7 separate regions of the Homo sapiens genome follow, and regions 1, 2, 3, 4, 5 and 6 are each linked to region 7. Evidence: promoter capture Hi-C in 16 types of primary human blood cells and fetal thymus (Javierre and others, 2016). All regions are on one chromosome and are shown on one strand. Each heading gives the region's core, a stretch centred on a gene start or on the middle of the fragment in contact. The rest is flanking DNA. Distances are from core to core; before and after follow the strand shown. Region 1 overlaps TMEM131 (transmembrane protein 131). Region 2 overlaps VWA3B (von Willebrand factor A domain containing 3B). Region 3 overlaps TMEM131 (transmembrane protein 131). Region 4 overlaps TMEM131 (transmembrane protein 131). Region 5 overlaps TMEM131 (transmembrane protein 131). Region 6 overlaps VWA3B (von Willebrand factor A domain containing 3B). Region 7 holds the start of VWA3B (von Willebrand factor A domain containing 3B).

Region 1 (3,565 bases), core at 541-3,040, 220 kb after region 7:
CCACTGAGCCAGGCCACTTGGGTCCCTGGCTTCAGCACCCCTTTCCAGGGGAGTGAATGGTTCTGTCTTGCTGGTGTTCCAGGTGCCAATGGGGTATGGAAAAAAAAGAACTCATGAAGTTAGTTCGGTGACTGCCCAAACGGCCGCCCAGTTTTGTGCTTGAAACCCAGGGCCCTGGTGGGGTAGGCACCGGAGGGAATCTCCTGGTTTGCAGCTTGCAGAGACCATGGGACAAGCGCAGTATCTGTGCCAGAGTTCCTCAGGTTCAGTCCCTGACAGCTTCCTTTGGGTAGAAGAGAAAATTCCCTGACCCCTTGTGCTTCACAGATGAGGTGATGCCCCACCCTGCTTCGGCTCGCCCTCCGTGGGCTGTACCCACTGTCTAACCAGTCCCAGTTGGAAATGTAGAAGTCACCCGCCTTCTGCATCCATCTCGCTGGGAGCCGCAGACTGGAGCTGTTCCTGTTCGGCCATCTTGCCAGCAATTGGTTTTTATTGCGGTTGGGGAGCAAGGCTGGAGTGGGTTTGCATGATTGGAACTTCTCACTAGCTCCGAGAGAGAAGGGCTTTTTGATTGGCTTGCCCAGGTTTGGGGCTAAAGGTAAAGGGGCATCATTGGGGCTTGAAAACTATCAACAGTTGAATATCAAAAATGGAGTTAGAGTCTTTCTAACTCATGGCATCTTCTAAAAAGTATCAGGCCCTTCAGGAAGGGTGCATCTAGAATTTCCCTTGCTTCTTTCTTGACCCCAGTGCTGACTCCTGTCATTACCCTGATCATTCCTACTCTCCTGTAGAATTTGTTTCACAATAAACAGATCAAATTAGCTTTCTTTGTTTTCAGACTTTTTGTTTAAATTTATTCTTTAAGCCTACCTGTATTCTCTCTGCCCTTCCTCCCTTTCCCTCCCCCTCTTTTCTTTTCCCCCTTTCTCTCCTCTTCTCTCCTTGTAACAATCCCATGGGGCAATCTAGACACCACTGGCTCCCCTCCCATTCTCCACTCCCCCCCCGACCCCATTTTTATGCCAGTGCTGTTAAATGTTTTTCTGTTTCCATAGCAACTCCTATAATTACCTGATGGATTCTTCCTGCCTGCTATACAGACAAAACCAGTTCACTGAGACCATGGTATTGCAATAAAGAGTTTTACTAACATGAGGCCAGCCACACAGGAGATAGAGTTATTACTCAAATCAGTCTCCCTGAAGGCTTGGAGATTAGGGTTTTACAAGGATAGTTTTGTGGGCAGGGGGCTAGGGAATGAGGAATGTTGATTGGTTGAGGATGGAATCATAGGGATGTGGAATATGGTCCTCCTGCTCTGAGTCAGCCTTTGGGTGGGGGCCACAGGACCGGTTGAGTCAGCCAGTTGTCAGAAATGCAAACATCTGAAAGGATCTCTCAAAAGACCAACCTTAGGTTCTGTAGTAGTAATGCTTCCTACAGGAGTGATTGGGAAATTTAGAAACCTTATGATCTCCCAGACAATGTCCGGTTATCTCAGGCCCCTCTGATAACCCTAACCTCATGGCTTTTCATTAGTTTTCAGAAGCAGTTTCGTTTTGGGAAAGGTTATTATCATCCTTGCTTTAATGTTAAACTATAAACTAAATTCCTCCCAAAGTTAGCTTTGCCTGTTCCCAGAAATGACAAAGGACAGCTTGGAGGTCAGAAGCAAGATGGCGTCAACTATGTCAGATTTCTCTTACTGTTCTAATTTTGCAAAGGCAGTTTCACTCCAGACATTCATTGCAGGCTGTAAAAGATGCTTTGGGTAGAAACTTGGTTTACTAAAATCTTTGGCTTATATAATTATTACATTCAGAAAATCTTGATTTCAGATCTGAAGGTTAAAGTAGGTACTTCATGGCTATAAAAAAAATGGACGTTGAATAGACTATTGCTAAAAATAGATGTCTTTATTGTCAAGATAAATTTAGTTTATGAAAGGCATTTTTCTCTGATGACTTTTTGGTATTCCAAGAAAATCAAATAGGCCCCCTAAAGGGATACTTGGTGCCTCTTAGCTTTTCAATTCCTACCTACCCAATCTTTCCATAAAAGATTTTACATCAACTCCCCAGCTCAGCCTTCAATCTAAAATGTTTTTGAAAGGAGGATAGTAGTATTTTGCGGTAATTGAGTGGTACAAAGTACTGCATATTGATTTGACCCGACTTCCTGCCCAAAACTATGCTTAACAGAGTGCTGTGTCACTGTCATTCATAAGGTCTGCCTCAGGGCAGTTGCTAAGCCATTTCTTCAGCTGTTTCCTGGCACTGCAGTGTCATCTTTCTGTGGTGTAGGAAACTTGCCCTTGACCACAAAATTGCAGTTTACTTTCCAAGCTAGTCTCTAATTCATAGCTGCTGCTTTCTAATTCTTTTGAGCCTCAGACTATTCGAAAATATGGACAGTTCGTAGTTCTGCTGCAGCAGCACAGAGAACAGCTGTATGCCTGCTTCAGCTTGGTTTATAAATACCTCACACTGTCCCTTTTGGCCCTACTTCTGTCTTTGGACAGCCAGTAATGGAAACAAACAGGACCAGCACTGGCAGGCATTTGGAAATCTTTGTTTTATTTTTAAATTTTACCTGTTCAGCCAAGTAGTCATATATCCTGCTTATGATAGGCAGAATTCTAAGATAGACCAGAATTCTAAAAATTTCTGGCCTCTAATGTACCTGTACATACATTCTCCCAATTATTCAATCAAACACCAATCTAGGTGTTGCTATAGAGGATTTTGAAACTGTAACTAAGGCCCCAAATCAATTGACCTTTGAGATAGATTTTTTTTGGGTGAGCCTGACCTAATCCACGAACCTTTAAAATCTGGCTTTAGCAATCAGAAACAGAAATGTCAGGTATTTGAGGTAAGGGAGATATTGGATGCAAGAGAGTTTCTTCGTGCTGCTTTTGAAAATGGTAGGGTCATATGGCAAAAGACTGAAAGCAACCCGAATTTTATCAACAACCAGAATGAACTTAAAAGAACTTTGAGCTTCAGATGAGGACACATCTTGCTGACACCTGCATTTCCTTGTGAGACCTCGAGCAGATAAACCAGGCATTCTTACAGAATTGTAAGATAATGAACGGGCATTGCTTTAAGCCTCAAAGTTTGTGGTAATTTGTTACATAGTATAGAAAAGCAACACATTGTGAGTTTACAAATGGTCATGTACTTTCCATGGTCTAGATTCTGCTCATGTCACCAAAGGAACGGAGGATGGTGAGGAGGAAGGCAAGCTGTTCACAGACCTATGAGGTCTGTGAGCAAGTCTGTCCAAGGAGTGCCCGCTCCCTTTGCTTCCTGTGGTGTGGACTGCCCAGAGCTAGAGGCAGCCTGCCCTGTTTGAGCACGCAACGACTAAAATAGCCTGCTGATGTCCTTCCTGACAGCTTCCCTCTGTTCTTGTTACTCCAAGCTACTTTGAACAACATAAGTAGATGACTCATCTCCTCTGAGCAAGGGTTCATTCATTTCTATGGGATGTGGCCCATGCCTTTCCTCTTTGATCCCTGGAAGAAAGGGCAGGGCCAGCCTCAGAAGCATTG
Region 2 (3,305 bases), core at 505-3,004, 170 kb before region 7:
ACAAAGTTGACAAATCTTCAGCTAGATTGACTAAAAGGAAAAAACACATAATTACTACTATCAGAAGTGAAAGCAGGCACATTACTAATTCAGCTTACAAAAATAAAAATAATTATAGAGAATACTATGAATAGTTCTATGCCAAAAATAGATAATCTAGATGAAATGCACAAATTCCTAGAAACAGATTACCAAAATGACTCAAGAAGAAATAGATAAACTCAACAGCCTATATAACAATTAAATACTTTGCATAAGAAATAAAAAATCCCCCAACAAAGGGAAATTAAGAAGCAGATGCCTTCACTGGTGAATTCTACCAAACAAATAATTAACAACAATACTGCTCAAACTCTTCCAAAAAATGGATGAGGGAATACTTCTTAACAGTCAGCAAGAAGAGAATTACCCTGATACCAAGGCCAGACAAACATGTCAAAGAAAACTACAGACCATTTTCTTTATAAATATGGACATAAATATTCTTAATAAAACACTAGCAAATCAAATCCAAAAGGACATTAAAAGGATTATACACCATGACTAAGTAGGATTTATGCCAGAAATGCAGGAGTGGTTCAACCCAAGAAAATCACATGATTTAATACATCACATTAGTAGAGCAAAGGGAAAAATCCATGATCATTTCAATAGATACAGAAAAAAGCACTTGACAAAATTTAACACACACTTTTCATGATAAAAACAATCAGGAAACTAGGAATATAGGGAACTTCCTTTCTTTCTCACTGGGATCAGGAACAAGACAAGAACGTCCCCTTTCACCACTGCTATTCAATGTTGTTCTGGAAGTACTAGCTAGATCAATTAGGTAAGAAAAAGAAATAAAAGGCATCCAAATTAGAAAGAAAGAAGTAAAATTATTTCTACTTGCAGATGATATGTTTCTATATATAGAAAACCCCATAGATTCCCCACAAAGCCACTAGTACCAATAAATTCAGCAAAGTTGCAAGGTACAAAGTCAAAATACAAAATTCAGCTGTGTTTTTATGTACCAGCAATGAACAATCTGAAAATGAAGTTAAGAAAACAATCCCATTTATAATAGCACCCAAAAGAACAAAATAACAGAGGATGTGAAAGGCAGGTATACTGAAAACTATATAACATTGCTGAAGGAATTAAAGATCCACTAAATAAATGGAAAGACATTCTATGTTCATTGATTGGAAAACAATATTGTTAAAATGGTAATACTCTTCAAAGCAATCTTTAGATTAAATATAATCCCTACAAAAATTCCAATTTTTTTTTCAGAAATAGAAAAGCCAATCCTCAAATGTATACAAAACTTCAAGGGGCCCTGAATAGCCCAAACAATTTTGAAATAGAAGAACAAAGTTGAAGGACTCATATTTCCTAATTTCAAAACTGAATACAAATCTACAATAATTAAAACAGTGTCAACTTGCATAAATATAGTCATATATAGACCAGTGGAATAGAATAGAGAGTCCAGAAATAAACCCAAACATTTATGGTCAGATGATTTTTGACAAGGGTGCCAAGACCATTCAAAGGGAAAGAATAGTCTCTTAAACAAATAGTGCTGGATAAACTGGATATTTACATGAAAAAGAATGAAGTTGGAACCCTACTTCACACCAGATACAAAAAGTCCCTCAAAAATGGATCAAAAGTCCAAATGTAAGACCTAAAACTGTAAACATATTAGAAGAAAACAAAAGGATAAATGCTCATGATTTTGTATTTGGCAATGGATTCTTAGATTTGACACCAAAAACACAAACAAAAGAAAAAAAAAGAAGAATTCACTTCCTAAAACTTAAAAACTTTTGGACCTCCAAGGACATTATGAAGAATACGAAAAGATAACCCATAGCATGGGAGAAAATACTGACAAATCAGATATCTGATAATGACTTAATCCTCAGAAGTTATACAACAAAAACACAACCCAATTGGAAAATGGACAAAGAACTTGAATAAACATTTCTCCAAAGAAGATATACAAATGGACAACAAGCACATGAAAAGATGTTTAACATCATTGGTCATTAAGAAAATGTGTATCAAAACCACAGCAGAATAGCCTTTCACACCCATGAGAATGACTTAAAAAAAAAAAGAAAAGGAAAATGTCAAGTGTTCATGAGGATGTGGAGCAATGAGAACCTACCACATGATCCAGCAATCTCACTACTGGATATTTATCCAAAGATAGTAAATCAATATGTATCATAGGGACACCTGCACCCTCATGTTTATTGCAGCAAGATATGGAATCAAACAAACTAAGTATCCATCAACGGATGGATGGATAAAGAAAATGTGGTATATATACACAATGGAATACTATTCAGCCAAAAAAAGGAACAAAATCCTATCATTTGCAGCAACTTAATATCATTTGCAGCACTTAATATCATTTGGAGGTCATGATATTAAGTGAGATAAGCCCGGCACAGAAAGACAAATAGTTCTCACCCATCTGTAGGAGCTAAAAACAAAAAAAAGTTGATCTTATGGAGGCAGAAAATAGAATCATAGTTACCAGAGGCAGGGAAGAGTGTGTGTGGAGGTGGGGGAGATGAAGAGAGGTTTGACTATTGGACACAAACATACAGTTAGGTAGAAGGAAAAAGTTCTAACACTTGACAACACAGTAGGGAGACCATAGTTAACAATAATTTACTGTATATTTCAAAATAGCTAAAAGAGACAACTTGAAATGTTCCCAACACAAAGGGATAATAAATGTTTGAGGTGATAGATAGTCTAAACATCCTGATTTGATCATTACATGTGTGCAAGTATCAAAATATCACATGTACCCCAAAATATGTACAATTATTATGGGTCAATAAAAATAAATAGATATGTTCTAAAAATGGCATAGCCACTGTGGAAAAACAGTTTGGTGGTTCCTCAAAAAGTTAAGCATAGAATTACCATGTGACAAGCAAATCCACTGCTAGGTATATACCCAAGAGAAATGAAAACATATGTCCACAAAGAAACTTCTACACAAATGCATATAGCAACATAGTTCATGATAGCGAAAAAGCGGAAGCAACCCAAATGCCCGTCAGTGGAAGAATGGACAGACAAACGTGGTGTATATATACACATGTAGTACTGATACCTGGGTGAACCTTAAAAACATGAGGTTTTTACATTAACTAAGAAAAGCTGCCAGACACAAAAGGTCACATGCTGTATGATTCCCTTCATATGACATATCCAGAGTAGCCAAAATCATAGAGACAGGAAGCAAACTGGTGGTAACCCAGAAAAGGGGGAGACAGGAATGGGGAGTG
Region 3 (3,306 bases), core at 565-3,064, 230 kb after region 7:
TAGGCCATTCATCTTTCATGGCCATATTATATATAGGCCATAAAATATGCAATATATGTTTTGCATCAGAAAATACAGAATTTTATAATAATATTCTATACAAGTCCAATTGTGGAAATGGGGTGCCTTACACACAGTAGGAAACAAAAATGTTTTCTTTATTGACTAGAAGCTTTTGATTAATTAAATTTTCAGACAAACTGAAGATTAGGACAAACTTTGTTTCAGTCTGTGACTAAAATTAAAATGTTATAGTTCACTTATTTCAGTATACTTAATGATCAATCTCTTCTCATGGGTTGAAGGGTGTTAATAAATATTAATGATTATTTTAATTAGATATAGAAGGACATTATTCTATTGATTCCATGCATGTTTTTGGGAATTTAACAAAATGCGATGTAGCAATAGTATGGAATTTTATGCAGATAATAAAGAGAATGAAATAGGTCTCTGTCTATTGATCTGGAATAATATACATGACATGCTAATATGTAAGAAAAGCATATTGTAGAGTAGAATATAATGCCTTTTTTTTTTTTTTTGAGACAGGGTCTCTCTCTGTCACCCAGGCTGGAGTGCAGTGGCATGATCTCAGCTCACTGCAACCTCTGCCTCCTGGTTCAAGCAATTCTTGTGCCTCAGCTTCCCCAGTAGCTGGGACTACAAGCACCTGCTACCACACCCAGCTAATTTTTGTATTTTTTGGTAGAGATGGAGTTTTGCCATGTTGGCCAGGCTGGTCTCAAACTCCTAGCCTCAAGCAATCTGCCTGCCTCAGCCTCCCAAAGTGCCGGGATGACAGGCGTGAGCCACCGTGCCTTGCCTATAATGCCATTTTTATTAAAAGCAAAAAATCTGTGTATATTTATTTGGGTATATTAATAAGAGCCGGAATAAAGCACAGATTTGCCAGGTTGACTGGATAACCTAATAATGGTGAGAATGGAGGAAGTTTGAGTGTATTAGCTTTTTATTCAGTCATCTTTGCACTGTATCACTAAGTAAAATAAGCACTTGTTACTTTTGCAGTTTAAAACATACAAGAAAATGTAAATTAAAAATAGTTTTGCCACCCCACCTATGTGGAAAGAAGGAATTAATTTAACAAATATTTATGAAGTGTCTACTTAAAGTGCCAGGCACTTTTGTTTTTACCAGTGAAAACAGAGATGCTTATCATACATACTCTGGGGAGTTTGGGTGAAGTCAGCAGCAGAGGGAAGGCAAGCATGATAAATAAGTAAATTTTATAAGATCTTAGAAGATGTTACAAGGTCAGAAGAAAAGTATAAGATCAGAGACTTAGGTGTGCACAGGGAAGGCGGTACCATTTTAAATAGGGTGGTCAGGGTAGGCTTTATTCAGAAGGTGACATTTGAACAAAGACTCGAAGGGCGTGAGGTAGGACTGTTTGGAGGAAAGTGAAATATATGGAAGAAGAGCATTCTAGCCGGAAGGACCAAGCAGTATAAAGTCTCCATTGTTGAAAGCAGGCCTGTTGTGCAAAGACAGCCAGACCAGAGTGAGCATGGGTGAGAGGAGAAGTAAGGGGGCAGACTATGAAGGGTCTTACAAACTATGGTTTGACTTGACTCTTTTTCCTGAATGATGTGGAAAGCCATCAAAGGGTTTTGAACAGAGGAATGAAATTGTAGCTTTAGGTTTTAATAGGATCATTGTTCATCAAAAATAGGACAAGGGACACCAGTCACATTGGCTGTTGTCATACTCCAGGGTAAGAAGATGATTAGATGATTACTCTGACCAGAGTGGTACGTGGAAGAGGTGAAGAAAGGAGTTGGACTTGGGATACAGGGATACCTTGGAGATATTATGGGTTCCGTTCCAGACCACTGCAGTAAGCCAGTCACAGAATTTTTTTGTTTCCCCATATATATAAAAGTTATGTTTATACTATACTGTGGCCTATTAAGTGCAGTAGCATTGTGTCTAAAAAATGTACATACCTTAATTTCAAAAATACTTTATTGCTAAAAACTGCTGATGATCATGTCAGCCTTCTGCAAGTCGTCATCTTTTTGCTGGTGGAGGGCCTTCCCTCAATGTTGACAGCCACTGACTGATCAGGGTAGTGGTTGCTGAAGGTTGGGATGGCCGTGACAGTTGCTTAAAATAAGACAGCAGTAAAGTTTGCCACATTCATTGATTCTTCTTTTCACAAAAGATTTCTCTGTAGCGTGCAATGCTGTTTAATAGCACTTTACCCACAGCAGAAATTCTTTCAAAATTGGAGTCAATCCTTTCAAACCCTGCCTCTAAGTTTATGTAGTATTCTAAGTTCTTTGCTGTCATTGTCAGCATATTCACAGCATCTTCACTAGGAGTAGATTTCATCTCACGAAACCACTTTTTTTGCTCATCCCTAAGAAACAACTCCTCTTCCGTTCAAGTTTTATCATGGGATTGCACAAATTCATTCACATCTGCAGATGCCACTTCTAATTCTTTTCTCTTGCTGTTTCTACCACATCTACAGTGACTTCTCCACTGAAGTCTTGAACCCTTCCTTCAAAGTCATCCATAAGGGTTGGGATTAACTTCTTCCAGCCTCCTATTGTTGACATTTTAACCTTCTCCCATGAATCACAAATGTTCTTTTTTTTTTTTTTTTTTCCAAGACGGGGTCTCACTCTGTCGCCCAGGCTGGAGTGCACTGGCACAATCTTGGCTCACTGCAACCTCCGCCTCCCAGGTTCAAGCAATTCTCCTGCCTCAGCCTTCTGAATAGCTGGGATTATAGGCCCGTCCCACCACTGCCAGCTACATTTTTTTTTTTTTTTTTTTTTTTAGTAGAGATGGGATTTCACCATGTTGGCGAGGCTGGTCTCGAACTCCTGACTTCAGGTGATCCACCCGCCTCAGCCTCCCAAAGTGCTGGGATTACAGACTTGAGCCACTGTGCCCAGCTGCAAATGTTCTTAATGGCATTTAGAATGGTGACTCATTTCCAGGAGGTTTTCAATGGACTTTGCCCAGATCCATCAGAGGAATCACCCTTTGTGGCAGCTATAGCCTTAAGCAGTGTATTTCTTCAATAAGAAGACTTGCAACTTGAAATTACTCCTTGATCCTTGGCTGAAGAATGGATGTTGTGTTAGCAGTCATGAAAACAACGTGCATCTTCTTGTACATTTTCATCAGAGCTCCTGGGTGACCAGTTGCCTTGTCACTGAGCAGTAATATTTGGAAAGAAATCTTTTTTCTGAGCATTAGGTCTCAACAGTGGATTTTAAATATTCAGTAAACCATGTTATAAATAGATGTGCTGTTATCTAGGCCTTG
Region 4 (3,488 bases), core at 726-3,225, 170 kb after region 7:
TGAGTCCCTTGGATCACATCTGAGTTTATACCTAATGAGAATACTCAAGATGGGGGTTGGTCATCAGAAAAACCAACCATGTTGGCCGGGCGCAGTGGATCACACCTGTAATCCCAACACTTTGGGAGGCTGAGGCCGGTGGATCGCCTGTGGTCAGGAGTTCGAGACCAGCGTGACCAACATGGTGAAAACCCGTCTCTACTAAAAATACAAAAATTAGCCAGGCATGGTGGCATGCGCCTGTAGTCCCAGCTACTCGGGAGGCTGACACAGAATTGCTTGAACCCGGGAGGCGGAGGTTGTAGTGAGCCGAGATCGTGCCACTGCACTCCAGCCTCAGTGACAGAGCAAGATTCTGTCTCAAGAAAAAAAAAAAAAAGAGAGAAAAAAACCAATCATGTGATTAGAGGGTTGGGCTTTGAGCCAACCCACCCTCCTCTAGGGAAGCCGAAATGTGAGTTGGGTCACATGGTGGTCAGTGATTGAATCAGCCATACCTTACCTACCTGATGAAACTGGATACTGAAGCTTGCTAGAACCTGCTGGGAGGTAATTGAATCATGGCGGCGGTTACTCCCATGCTGTTCTTGTGATTGTGAGTTCTCATGAGATCTGGTGGTTTTATAAGGGGCTTTTCCCCCTTTGCTCAGCACTTCTTGCTGCTGCCATGTGAAGAAGAATATGTTTGCTTCCCCTTCCGCCATGATTGTTAGTTTTCTGAGGCGTCCCAAGCCCTGCAGAACTGTGAGTCAGTTAAACCTCTTTTCTTTATGAATTAATTACCCAGTCTTGGGTATGTCTTTATTAGCAGTGTGAGAACAGACTAATGCAGATGGTTAGCATCAGAATTGTACTGCAGTTCACTAGTGGGACTGTACATTGTCTGTATTTTTCTTGAGGACATGCTATGCCAGATTGCCTTAGATTTTTAGGTCACAGATTTTCTTATGTAGGGACTTAATGATTCTGGAAATAAGATATTGTGGCATTATTTCTGTTGATCTAAGCCAGATGTTGGCAAACTTTTTCGGTAAAGGACCAGATATTAACTACTTCAGGGTTTGTGTCCCGAATGGTCTCTATCACAACTATTCAACTTTGGTCATCGTAGTGTGAAAGCTGCCGTAACAGTATGTGAGAAATGGGCATAAAACTTTATTTGCAAAAGCTGGCAGAAGACTGGATTTGGCTCATGGGCTAATAGATTACCAACTTCTTTTCTAAATTGTCTTGGAAATGGGCTTTAATGTTCTCCCAGGAGAAAAGGAAATGGAGAAGGAGCTGTGATTTTGACTTGTAAGGAGGCCTAGAAGTACTCATCTTTTGTTTTAAATTAAAGGACTTCTATTATAAAAGAAATATAAGCTTGTAGAAAATTTGAAAAATGTGAAAAAATAATAAATATAAGTCATATTTATTGGGTGTTGACAAGTCAGGTACTCTTCTAAATTCTTAAATACATGAGATGGTATTCATTTTATGATCATTTTACAGGTGAGCATATTAAAGTGCAGGGAGTTTAACCTAACCAAATAAATGATTATTAAGTGATAAAGCTAGAATTGAAAACCAAGCATTTGACTCTGAGGCCTAAGTTTTTAACCGCTCTGCAATAACAGGGGTCATTACCCTTGTATCCCACTGCCTAAATGTACTACAAGGTAGTGCTTTTTGTTTTTTCAGTTATTTTTCTCTCTGCAAACAAAGCTAGATTTTCTCACTCTACATTATCAGTTTTACAATATTACAACTAATTTTGTACTCAAAACAGCCACTTCATGTCATGTCAAGTTGATTACCTGTGGCTGAAGAGAGAAGTGGGTGGGACACTAGAAAGCCGTCATCAGAGGCCAACAGCTCTGCAGCTCCTTGTAGTTGGCAGAATGCTGCTTTTACAGACTTTCCCCAAGGGTATTTGGCTAGTGAGGGCAGAGCTGGTGTTTGCACACAGGTTTTTATTTTCTACTTTAAATTTTGAGTCTTCTCAGAAATACCTGCTCCCCACTTCATCCTCATTTTGATTCTCCCTTTACTACTATTTCCTGCCCTCTATTGTAGTACAATAAGTGGTACAAAAGAAGAATAAATAGCGGGTTCAGAAACAGCCTTAAGGCTGGGTGCCGTGGCCCACGCCTATAATCCCAGTACTTTGGGAGGCTGAGGCGGGTGGATCATTTGAGGTCAGGAGTTTGAGACCAGCCTGACCAACATGGTGAAACTCCATCTCTACTAAAAATTAAAAAAAATTAGCTGGGCGTGCTGGCACATGCCTGTAGTCCCAGCTACTTGGGAGGCTGAGGCAGGAGAATTGCTTGATCTCGTGAGGCAGAGGTTGCAGTGAGTTGAGATCACTCCACTGCATTCCAGCCTGGGCAACAGGCAAAATTTTATTTTATTAAAATAAAATAAGAAACAGCCTTAAAAACTAGGAATAAAGAATACCACAGAATACTAAAATGGTATGCAAAGTCTGAATATAGAAAGATCTCACACCTTAAACAAAAACTAACTCAAAATGGATCATGGACTTAATGTAAAACTATAATAAAACCTTTAGGGAGAATAAAACTAAGAGGAAAGCTTCAGCTTACAGGGCTAGGCAAAGAGTTCTTGACACCAAAGAATTAATACCAGATGTGCAATGTATAAAGGAAAGATCGATGAATTTAAAACTTGCTCTGGGCCAGACGCAGTACCTCATGCCTGTAATTCTAGCACTTTGGGAGGCCAAGGGAAGAGGAGCCATTGAGCCCAGGAGTTTAATTAAGACCAGCTTAGGCAACATAGTGAGACCTTGTCTCTAGTAAAATAAAAAGTAAGTAAATAAAATAAATAAAAAATTGTCCAGGTGTGGTGGTGTGCACCTGTAGTCCCAGCTACTCAGGAGTCAGAAGCAGAGAATCTTTTGAGCCTGGGACATCAAGCCTGCAGTGAGCCATGATCACACTGCTGCACTCCAGCCTGGGCAACAGAGCCAGACTGGTCTCACAAAAACAAACAAACAAAACCTTTCTCTGCAAAAGACCATGTGAAGATGTAAAGATAAATATAGACTAGGAGAAAATATTTGCAAGTCACACACCTGACAATGGACCTAGTTTCTGGAATATAGAAAGAACTCTCGAAACTCAATAGTATAAAAATAAAGGAAACAGGGAAAAGAGATGAGCACACATTTCCCTGAAGGGGAAATACAGATGGTAAAAACGACATGAAAACCTGTTCAACATTGTTAGCCACCAGGCAATGCAAATTAAAACCCAAAACACAAAACAGTGACAACACCAAATACTGGCAAGGATGTGGAGAAACTGGATCACGCATGCATTACTAGAGGGTATGTGAGTGATACAGCTACTCTGGAAAAAACAGTTTGGCAGTTTCGTATAAATCTAAACATGTGGTTACTATAATTGACCTACTAATTGCTCTCTTGGGGATTCTCCCAAAGAAATGAAAATTTATATTTGCATTAAAACATGTATATA
Region 5 (3,353 bases), core at 323-2,822, 200 kb after region 7:
GAGAGGCATTTTCGGTTCTAAACACAGCCCCGCCGTGTTTGATTTTTCTTTATACACACATTTTCACCTAACATATTCAACTTTTGTTCCCCCTACTAGGAGGTTAGTGCCATGAGAGCAGGTGCTTTTCTTTATTCCCCACTGTAGCCCCAGCCAATAGACGGTAACTGGCATATAGTAAACATTCATACATTTGTATTGAATGGATGGGGTATATACTTTTTTACCCCACCTGGCCACTTTAGACATTTCCATTTGTAATTTGCAGAACAGCCTCTTGGCTCTGTGAGAGAAAAACACTGTATCTTAATTTCCTTTTTCTCCAACATCTAAACAGTCCATGGAATTAATATATAGGAATTATATATTATATATAGGAATATATATTACATTATAGGAATATATATTATATATAGGAATATAATATTATATAGGAATTAATGACATACAGTTATGCCTTATACTTTATTTTTCCTTGATTTGATTAAGATTTATGTAAATTTGAGTTTCATACTAATGAAACTAATGAGCTGAGGAGCATCTCTTGTTTTAAAGGCGCCAAAGAATGTTTTTGTTACATAACATCTAAGAAACAGACAGGGCAGAAAGCAGGAAGGAATAGATGCCAACACTGTGTTGCAAGGAATTGTGCCTTCATGTCCCGGTGTCTTTAGTTTCATGCTTTAGTAAAATATAATCTTACTTTTGGTGCTTGCTTTCTTTTTTTGTTTGTCATCTTTTCTGTTCAACATATGCAGAGGGATTCTTAAGCTACACAAAAGAATGTTCTAAATTGGTAGGGCTAAAAACATGTTTGGATTTTATTACCTTCAGCTAAATTATTCCACTACTCAGATTATTTAATCTTTATAGAATTGAATTAAAGCCAAATTTCCTCCATATTATGAATGTCCTTGTCTATTTCTAATTATTTCTTGTATCTCCTAAATCCTGGATATTTCCTCTGACTCCTTAATCCTGAATGAAATTACTATATCATTTCAAAGCTTACGTTACTATGAATTTCAGTGATGATGGAAATAAAGTAGTCTCACAAAATGGGTTTTGCTCTGACATCATTTCCTAGAACAAAAACATCAAAATCTACTATTTTGAAACTTAGTGCCTGACTGAATTTCTGACTTTCTGACTGAATTTCTGACACTTTAGGCATGTGAACCACCACCACTACTCCCCCTACCCCACCAAAAGTCATTTATGTTTTATATCAGCGTTAGGCCCTGATGTTGTCTGAGGTTTGCTATTCAGAAATCTGTTCTATTGAGAAGTTCTGGTATCAGGTGGGTTAGTTAGAAGATGCTACTGTAATATGGAGGCCAGGACATCAGAGATCAGTTCTAGTGTATTCCAAACTCTCAGATGAAATAGATATTTCAATTCTTGGAAGTTTGTATCCCAAATTCATTTTTGTTTAGTCCTTTGCCACTCTAGTTACAATCTGATTGTGATTTTTGTCTTCATATATTGTCTGCTAAATGTATGTAAGTTGTATTAACTCTTTATTCATCATACATGTATCAGAAAATCCAAGCGACCTATTAAAGTATATCGTTACCAATTATACCAACCAAATAAATTTCAACATTCAGTCTGCCTGAGCATTTTCTATTTGCATATACCTTTGAAGAAGAAAAATAATCCCACTTTTTCATTTTCTAAAACGCAATCTTTATTGGTTTCTGCTAATTTAAAAAGTGACGCACATTTCTGATAGATTGTTAGACCCAATTTTTCTTAAAATGGCATTGTTATGACAAAAGTCAGCTGTCTGAATAGAGTTTGGGGAAACATATATTTTGAAGAATTGCTTCTTATGTTGTTTTCTTTTTATTTACAGTATATCTCTCTACCGGGGGAATTGCAGGCCCATACGATTTGAGCCACCAATGCTGGATTTCCATGAACAGTAAGTTTAAAATTTTTGGACTGTACTTTCCCATTAAACTATTAAATGTATTTTACATGCATTTGTCTTGTCTTTTGCCTGTGTTACATCTATGTGGGAAAGTTACATGTTCTAGTCATCAGGAAAACAAATGATACTGAATGCAGTTTGAAAATGGGAAGTAAGTATCTATTAGGAGTCTAACATGTAATATTAACTTTTAAAGCTTGAAAAATACTCGCTTGTTGTAGTCTCTGGTTCAGAGACTCTTTGGAAACAGCAAAGAACTTATAGTTAGCTGTTTTGATTAGCACTTCATTTTTATTTTTACTATTTAAAAATCTTCTTATGAATAAAATATATTCTATTTGTTTAATATATGTGCTTTTAATAGACAAGCTCTTATATATCACCAAATAGTATTATCACCAACCCATAATGGCAGGTAAAAGCAAACGCACAGACAGACATGGTTCATTCACAGAACTCTGCCTTGATGAGCTAAGCAAACCACTGCACACCCTCCCCCAAGCAGGAGAGACCCCCGGGCCTCTAAGCAGCTAATATACCCAAGGGCCAGCAAAGCAGCTACATACCTGCACTCAGCACCTAAGAAAGAGCCCCACAGTGCACCCCCAAGATATTTCCTTGGCCTGCCCAATGGCCCTGCACCTGAAATCAGGGCCTGAAAAACAGCCCTGTGGGCAACCACCGGCAGACACACCTCCAGACCAGCTGAGCATCTCTGTGCCTGTGTCAGGCCTAAGAAATAGCCCTGTGGGTCGCCACTAGCAAACATGTCCCCAGGCTAGCCAAGCAGCTTTGTGCTCACATCATGGACCTGAGAAGCAGCTGTATAGGCTGCCCCTGGCAGACACATCCTCGGGCCAGCTGAGCAGACTTGCAACTGTGTCTTGGACCTGAGAAACAGCCCCATAGGGCAGACACACTTCAAGGCCAACTAAACACCCATGTGTCTGCACCCCCACCCTGAGAAACAGCCCCATGGGTCACCCCAAGCCAACAGACACCCAAGCCATCTGAGAAGCCATGAGACTGCATCCCACGCCTGAAAAACAGCCCTGCGGGCCATCCCTGGCAAACATAACTCCCAGTTCAGCTGAGCAGCCTCAGCGGGCTCCTATATGTCCCTTCTCAGATTCTCCAAAAAGAGTTTTTTCATCTTGCTGAGTCAAAAGAAAGTTTTAACTCTGTGACATAAATCCACACGTCACAAAGCAGTTTCACAGATAGCTAGGCCTGAGAAACAGCCCTTTGGGCTACTCCTGGCAGGCATACACCCACACCATCCAACTAAACACGTGCTTGTGCTGCTGTCCAGAGTAACAGCCCTGCGTTTTAGAGCCAGACCCTAAGTTGGCCAGATTCCAAGCTGCCTGACCCACTGTGTGGATGCACACATCCCTGACCTGAGAAACAGCCTTGT
Region 6 (3,698 bases), core at 134-2,633, 190 kb before region 7:
TCTGGGGATGATAACAGCTTCCTGCTATTGCTTGTCCTGGGGTCCTGCAATATCCCACGGACTGCCTTAGACTGACCTTCACTTCTGCAAAGAGTTCCTTCATTAACGTTTCTTCACTTGTGCTGAATGAATTGGATTCTGCTTCCTGAGTGGCCCCTGCTAAGCCCTCTACACTCCGTTTTCTTCCTCCAGACAGGGAGGGCAAATCTGTCCCCAGATCTGTTTAGGGTGCTTGGGTAGAATTCATGGTTGGGAACAAAGACAAATGTAGAGGCAGGAGAGTGCTGGCATCTGCCCAGCCGAATCTCCAGCGAGGAGGGTGCCTTTAGCTTCAGAATGAAAAGACAGCCTGGTTCTAAGTTTTTGTCACCTCAGGGATCCCCAGAGTTGACACCCACCTTCCCATTCCTGAACATCAGGACATGAGACAGAAGACTTCTTAGAAAATAGAGTTTGGGGATATTTTCCCCCTTCTTTCAGTTTCCTCCAGTGACTGGTGTTTCTGAGCAGGATTCTCTCCTTAAAGCCCCATCTAACCCCTAGATAAACGTGGCACAGTAATGAAGGGCTTCATTTTCTCTTTGTCATCCTCTCACTGCCTCTGGGATTTCAGCTTCACTCTGGCCACATGCCCTGGAGGCCCATCAGGGGTCCCACTTCCAGATGCTAAACCATCACTGCAGTGCTGTCTGAGGACGGCATGGTCTGAATGTGCACACATCACTTCTGTGTGATGGTAACATCACCAGTGCACACCCCAGACTTGTTAACTTCCTGCCCACTGATATGGACAGGAGGCAGGGAAATACTGGGTAGAAGGCAGCAGTCCCCAGTGAGGGCCCCACTCTCAAGCCTGGACCCACATTCCTGTTTTCCTTCTCGAATGTTGCCTTTTTCAAAACCACTCTGGCCCACACCACCCCCCCATCCTGTACCCATAAAAACTCCAGGCTCCACTGGCAGTGGAGTAGCAGAGATGGAGAAAAGAGAAGCAGCAGCCTGACGTCGTTGAGAAGCAGCTTGACTTCAGGGGGATGGCTTGATGGCGGGACCTCAGAGAAGAGTGTGGCCAGTGATGGCTGAACCCCAGGGGAAGACCACCTTCCCACTCCATCCCCTTTCTAGCTCTCCATCCTGCTGAGAGTCACTTTCATCAGCAATAAAATTCCCTGTATTTACCATCTTCAATTTGTTCGTGTGACCTGATTCTTCCTGCATGCTGAACAAGAGCTAGGGATACAGCGGGCTGTCACACCAAGGAGTTAAACACTTAGCCATCTGTGGACAGCAACACTAAAGGAGCACGGTAACACACGCCCTCTGGGGCTCCAGGGGTTGTGGGTACTCCTCTAGAAGCTGCCTTGGGGCCACACAGAGTTCTGCTCCTGCCGGCACCCAGAAGTACTCATCTTGGCCCCTGCACCCACTCACCTGCGTGCTCCCTCTCCCGAGAGGGGCTGAGAGCCACGGGCTGAGTAAACAAGCCACCCTCTTTGCAAGTCCCATGAAGGGGTCAGGGAAAATTTCCTGTCTCAACATCAGTAGATCTTGTTCCACTGGAGAACAGTTCACAGCCACTAGGGAGCTAGTCTTCCCAACAGACCTGAATATCAGCAAAACAGACTAAAGTTTTTACTAGTGGAATTGGAAAGGCCGACTAGTCAGTTAGGGTGTAATGCCTCACACCTCCCGTTAATGGACTGTAAAAAAAAAAAAGTTACAATTGAAGAATGACAATTGGTTCATTTACTATCTGGGACACAGATAACAGCCGTATATATTCTGAGTTTATTTTACATAACTGATAACTGAAAGACACTTTCCTCTGTCTCCCCAGCTAACATCTTCCTGCATGTATAGTGTCAAAGTCACAACCCAACAGAATGTTCTCAACAGCAAATGATCTCTTCTCTTCCTTCTCCTAATTCCACCTCATCCAGCCTCGCCCATGCCTGCCTCCCTGTGTGCATTTTCCTAACGCTCTCTTTCTCCCGGAGCAGAGCACTCAATTCCCCACCCCTGAAGGCCATAGGCTCCAGCTTCCTTGCCAGTCACGGCTTTGAGAAGGAAACGTGTGCAGCCAGTGGTGTGGGTAACTTTCCACGGCCTCCTTTAGAGCTGCTTTCAGCTTAAAAATATTTTCTACCTCCAGATTTTCCAAAGCAGTCAAGGTTATGGGTGAGAGAGCCTTTTTGATCTTTCTGGGCCAAAGGATTTGCCCTGGAGAACAATCTTTATTTATTCAGAAAATGTTGGAGGACAGCACAGCTGGGCTGCCCTAGACCAGGCTCCCAGGGAGGATTAATTATAATTCACAGATGCCCTCCGGCAACTTCCCCTATCGTTCAGCTCTGAGGGCTCTGGATTGGCTAGTGAGGGTGAAATCTGCAATCACAGTAACATGAGGGGTGCTAGGGAGGGGAGTTTTCAAAGGGAATTTAAAATTTCAGACTTAAGATTTCTCCTGTCATTATGTAGTCAGTGAGCCAAGTGGCCATCTCCAGGGACACCACGAAGCCTGTGGATTATGGACATAGGTGGAAACCATCATACAGTCAAGCATGGAATGTGCCCTGTGCAGGATGCCAGGCAGAGCAGGTGGGAATAACGGCTCTCACTTTAGGTCTCATCTGGGCCAGCCAGGAACTGCCCGTGGAAGCTGGAGCATAAAAAGCAGGCACAGGCTCCCTGGACACAGCATTTGCTGCCGTGTCTCCTTCCCACCGCTGGTTCTTACTGACAGAAAAATCATGAAGCTGCCCCAAACTTAGGAATCGGCAAGGCAGCTATGGGGCGGGGGAGGGCAACCCTGTTCCAGATGAGGGTATCAGAAAGCCCCGGTCATCCAGACTCCATAACGCACCCTGGAGCAGGCCAGATGCAGTGGCCACAGCCCTCTGGACACACATGGGCAGCCCATTCCAAATGCAATGGCCACAGCCCTCTGGACACACATGGGCAGCCCACTCCAAACGCAGTGGCCACAGCCCTCTGGACACACATGGGCAGCCCATTCCAAACGCAATGGCCACAGCCCTCTGGACACACGTGGGCAGCCCACTCCAAACGCAGTGGCCACAGCCCTCTGGACACACATGGGCAGCCCACTCTGAATGGTCTCATCCCCATTTTGCTGCTTGTTATCAGTCAGCTCATGGGGGTGCTTAATGATGAACAGAGGGGCTCTTTCATGGCAATTTATACTCATCCATCAAAAGCTTTGGCCTTTGCTAAAAGAATTTAAAATGAGACTGTATTTACATATAAATCAGGAAAAATGACTTGCATCTCTGATGCGTTTTTCACCCCAGGATCTCAGAAGGCCTTGAAACCTGGAGCTTCACACACCAAAGTTTGAGTCCTGTTAGTGGGTCACAAAATCGAATCTGCGGGGTGTGACAGTAATGGCATTTTGAAGTCTCAGAATCTATCACACATGGAAAGGAGAAGTATCATTGCAAGAAAACAACATTCAAAATCTTCCACTGCAGAGAGCCATGCCACGAGTGGAAAGATCTCTGAGGAGAAGTCACCAGATGTGACCTCTCCCCGTTACCTAGGGACATCTATGCTGGAACATCGGCGTTCCCCTAACAGACAAGGGTGGCTTTCGACAGCCTGTTGAGGGCAAGGCAGTGAGGGGACAGTCTTAGCCCCTGACCAAGAGGCAGCAGCAGACCCAGTGATGCCACTGCACA
Region 7 (3,244 bases), core at 434-2,933:
CCCAGGGGGCAGAGGTTGCAGTAAGCCAAGATTGCACCACTGCACTCCAGCCTGGGGGACAGAGCGAGACCCTGTCTCAAAAAAAAATAAAGGGGGATATATTATTTTCTGATAAAACTATGCTATTTATTTATTTATTTACTATTATTCAGAGTTTCCTCAGCTGAGGTTATTATAAATTGGGGAACCAAGTAACCCAGAAGTCGGAAACAACAACATACCGGAGTTGAGCATTGCCCTAAGTTTTAGAGGCCATCCCAAGAACCATACATAGAGTTTGGATAGGAAAGTATTTCCTTAGAAGAAGGAGGAAGTGTAAAAGGAAAAACAAGGAAGTGAAAGTCTGAGCTGAAAATGTGGGCAGGCAAAGCTTTGGGGAAAATAGAAAGGTTAAGCTGGCAACTGTACAAGGGCCCCGTCTACTGGAAGCAGATGCTCCTGGGCTGCCCTGGGCGACAGTCTTGTGAAGTCAGCATGCCCTCAGAGAAAAGGTCCTATGTGCTCGGAGGTTCAGGGACAGTGCAGGGTTGAGAGTCCATTAATCCAGTTTAGACATTCAATAAGCTTCTAGCTACTTTATTATCAACACCCCAAACTTCCTATACCCCTGTTAGTTTCTGAAAAAGAAGTCTGGGCTAGGTGGATATATATCTTGTGATTTAGGTGAATTTGTGAACGATGATTTTTCCAGGAAGAAAGGAAACTGGGACGAAGCTTCATGATGGATCCTGATGCAACTCTTCCCCAGAAACCCTTAAACCTCCTCCCATTTTTTCTGCCCTTAAGGGACAAGGCTTGGCTGTGATCATTGGCTCAAATAATGTGGACAGAGACAAGGATATTGAAACGGACTGTCCCACCGTTGAGAAAATAGTCAAGAAGGCAATATCTGAGAATAATTGGAGTGCTTTAGGAGGAAGGTCATTGCTGAGAAGAAACAGAGCTTCCAAGAAAATGAAAGGAAAAGCTCTACCAAATGGAAACTAAATCTACTTATTAAGTCTTATTTCCATATAAGGAGGGTGAAAGAAACTGATATGATTGTGAAACCATGTAAGTGTTGCTTTGGCTTTTAGACTATACATATTTATCCTTATGTTCAGGAAATGTGTTTCTTCTGGTTCCCATGTTCCCTCCAAAGCCCAGGTGGACTTCATCACCTTGAACTGCTGGCCTATGGCATAGACAGAAACTAGGAAAACCGCTTTTCCACCAGAGCGGCTGGGCGTGGGCTCGGGTGAGGTGTGATGGAAAGAGCTCTAGAGTAGGAGGGGTCGGTACCTTGACCCTCGGCTTGCCCTGGGTAGCGGACGATTAAGTGGGCCAGGGCAAGTCACCGAGCTTTCCTGGTACTGTTTCCGCATCTGTAAAGTGGGCGTGTAGTCCACCTCAGAAATGGCATTTTTCCAAGACCTCCCTAGGCCGCTTGTTGGAAGGCTCGGCACCTCGGCGGCTCTCGTGCGGCAGGCATCGCTCCCACACTTACTAGGCAATATGTCGGGTGGAAGACGTGGCGGCTCCCGCTCAGCAGCCACCCTCCCATCCTCCCGGGCCCGCCTGACCCGAGAGGGCGGGCGAGGTAAGCATCCCGCTGGTGGATAAGGCAGCGATTCCGGCGGGCGAAGGCTGCGCGCCGGGGGCGAAGGATTCCAGCTGTTCTAGGTCTCTGTGACCCGCGCCTCTGGTTCCGAGCGCGGTCTGTTGACGACGGCGTCTCCGCGGTTGCCTGGACACGGCCAATCACAGCGCGGCTCCTGGAGCCGGCCCCGCCCACAGACCGCGCCCTCACTGGGGCGATGGCTGCGGACCGTGGCCAAGAGGGCGGGGCGCCGAGGCCGTCACCGAGCCAGGTGCGGAAAGCCGGCGTCCGGAACCACCCGGGCCGGGACGACCTCCACCCCAGACCCCCAAACAGAGGCCACGCTAGAGGGACAGGGCGAGTGGCGTTGCCCCTTGCGCCTACTGTCAATGGGAAAATTAACAACAGCGGAGAATATGAATGAAAGAATGAATGAATTAACAAACAAATACACTGATGAGCTGGGGTAGAAATATAGGGTGCGAGCAGACAGGGGAGGAAGGCGCCAGAGGCCGAGGAGAGGCGAGGAGACTGCGGGAAACGCTACAAACGAACTTCTTTTCATACTTTTCAGCAGAGCATTGACCCCTGTGTAGTTTTAATTTTCACCTCACCACTGTCAGGCGATGCTCTCTTCCTTGCACAGTTCAGAGAAAGACGCTTTAAAAGAGGTGGGGCAGTTCGTTGTAGCTCAGCCACTGGACGTGGGCGGAGCTGAGACAGACAGAAGGGACAGGGAGCTGCAATTTTGCAATTGTGGAGGCAGGGGCTGCAGTTGCCAAGAATATTCTTACCTGTTTGACATGAATATTTCTATAGGCATTATTTTCTCCATTCAGCTTTGTTTTTAACCTTTGTTTCAGTGTTACCTTATCAATTAAGCAAAAGGCTCTAAATATTTTCCTATTTTTCCAGTCACCAGGAAATAAAATTGTGCTTATGAAAAGTATCTTTAAAGTCTTAATAAAAGACCCCACAGTAAGTATTGTTTTTAGGGTATTGGGATAGTAAACGATTTTAGATTTTAAAATTATAGAACTGACCAGATCATTTGCAGGTTTTTCAAAGAACTAATAAAACATAGTTAATGTTAGAACTGAGTAATTCTGTCCCCCCAAAAAAAGTCTGCTTCATCCACAGGAATTTATTTCTCCTGCATTCTTTTAATGCCTCTATCATTTAAAAAGTACTGAAAGATTTCATTCCATATCACAAATCATTCCTGGCAGTTATTAGTTTATATATATTTGGCCCTGCAAATGAAACCTGCCATCCACACCACCAAAAAACAAGCAAAAGCTTGATAGTACTGAAGACTGTTCAGAAGGGAGTAAAACACCAGCCTCGCCCATGTTTGCCAATGACCCATTAATCCTTGCTGTCCACACCCTGCCACACTAATATTCTTGGGTCACGGGGGTGAGACAGAGCACACAGCAACACATAGCCAAATGCCCTGCCTCACATGGTCACGCCAGGCACTCTTGTTCCCACCTTCACCCCATGCCTGCTCCTTTCCCTAGGACACTTGCCACATACGTGCAAGTCACCAAGATGATCTGTCCCTATCTTTCGTGTTTATGTGTCTATAAGCATACATTCTGTTGAAAATGTGAAACATTACTTACTTAAATTGTAGAATGATAAGTGAGTAGAAGTTTAAGG

What was found. Contacts are between HindIII fragments. The CHiCAGO score rates a contact against its expected background, and 5 or more counts as called.
Region 1: a contact is called between a fragment that was not itself captured here and the fragment with the promoter of VWA3B in region 7, in 4 of 17 cell types (total B cells, naive B cells, megakaryocytes and 1 more). The highest score is 9.4, in total B cells.
Region 2: a fragment that was not itself captured here is called in contact with the fragment with the promoter of VWA3B in region 7 in 1 of 17 cell types (M2 macrophages); the score reaches 7.6 in M2 macrophages.
Region 3: a contact is called between a fragment that was not itself captured here and the fragment with the promoter of VWA3B in region 7, in 3 of 17 cell types (naive B cells, total B cells and megakaryocytes). The highest score is 8.3, in naive B cells.
Region 4: a contact is called between a fragment that was not itself captured here and the fragment with the promoter of VWA3B in region 7, in 3 of 17 cell types (naive B cells, total B cells and monocytes). The highest score is 10.8, in naive B cells.
Region 5: a fragment that was not itself captured here is called in contact with the fragment with the promoter of VWA3B in region 7 in 3 of 17 cell types (total B cells, naive B cells and monocytes); the score reaches 8.1 in total B cells.
Region 6: a contact is called between a fragment that was not itself captured here and the fragment with the promoter of VWA3B in region 7, in 1 of 17 cell types (M2 macrophages). The highest score is 5.7, in M2 macrophages.

The regions. Positions count from the first base shown.
Region 1 is chr2:97,869,389-97,872,953 of GRCh38, reverse strand. All of the region lies in intron 4 of TMEM131 (transmembrane protein 131), which reads left to right. Among named protein-coding and RNA genes, the nearest start is that of TMEM131, 120 kb to the left of the region's middle. The HindIII fragment of the contact is 4,310 bases long and covers 1-3,565 here.
Region 2 is chr2:98,256,362-98,259,666 of GRCh38, reverse strand. All of the region lies in intron 21 of VWA3B (von Willebrand factor A domain containing 3B), which reads right to left. Among named protein-coding and RNA genes, the nearest start is that of CNGA3, 88 kb to the left of the region's middle. The HindIII fragment of the contact is 8,873 bases long and covers 1-3,305 here.
Region 3 is chr2:97,852,939-97,856,244 of GRCh38, reverse strand. All of the region lies in intron 5 of TMEM131 (transmembrane protein 131), which reads left to right. Among named protein-coding and RNA genes, the nearest start is that of ZAP70, 140 kb to the right of the region's middle. The HindIII fragment of the contact is 3,280 bases long and covers 175-3,306 here.
Region 4 is chr2:97,914,839-97,918,326 of GRCh38, reverse strand. The region is part of intron 2 of TMEM131 (transmembrane protein 131); the gene reads left to right. Among named protein-coding and RNA genes, the nearest start is that of TMEM131, 79 kb to the left of the region's middle. The HindIII fragment of the contact is 1,215 bases long and covers 1,368-2,582 here.
Region 5 is chr2:97,886,626-97,889,978 of GRCh38, reverse strand. It overlaps TMEM131 (transmembrane protein 131), which reads left to right. Exons shown (of 41, transcript NM_015348.2): 4 at 1,859-1,927. Among named protein-coding and RNA genes, the nearest start is that of TMEM131, 110 kb to the left of the region's middle. RefSeq lists enhancers at 2,236-2,735, 2,736-3,237. The HindIII fragment of the contact is 1,125 bases long and covers 1,010-2,134 here.
Region 6 is chr2:98,275,979-98,279,676 of GRCh38, reverse strand. The region is part of intron 22 of VWA3B (von Willebrand factor A domain containing 3B); the gene reads right to left. Among named protein-coding and RNA genes, the nearest start is that of CNGA3, 69 kb to the left of the region's middle. The HindIII fragment of the contact is 3,674 bases long and covers 1-3,220 here.
Region 7 is chr2:98,085,606-98,088,849 of GRCh38, reverse strand. It overlaps VWA3B (von Willebrand factor A domain containing 3B), which reads right to left and starts at 1,683. Exons shown (of 28, transcript NM_144992.5): 1 at 1,487-1,683. RefSeq lists enhancers at 954-1,454, 1,489-1,558, 1,455-1,955. The HindIII fragment of the contact is 2,164 bases long and covers 717-2,880 here.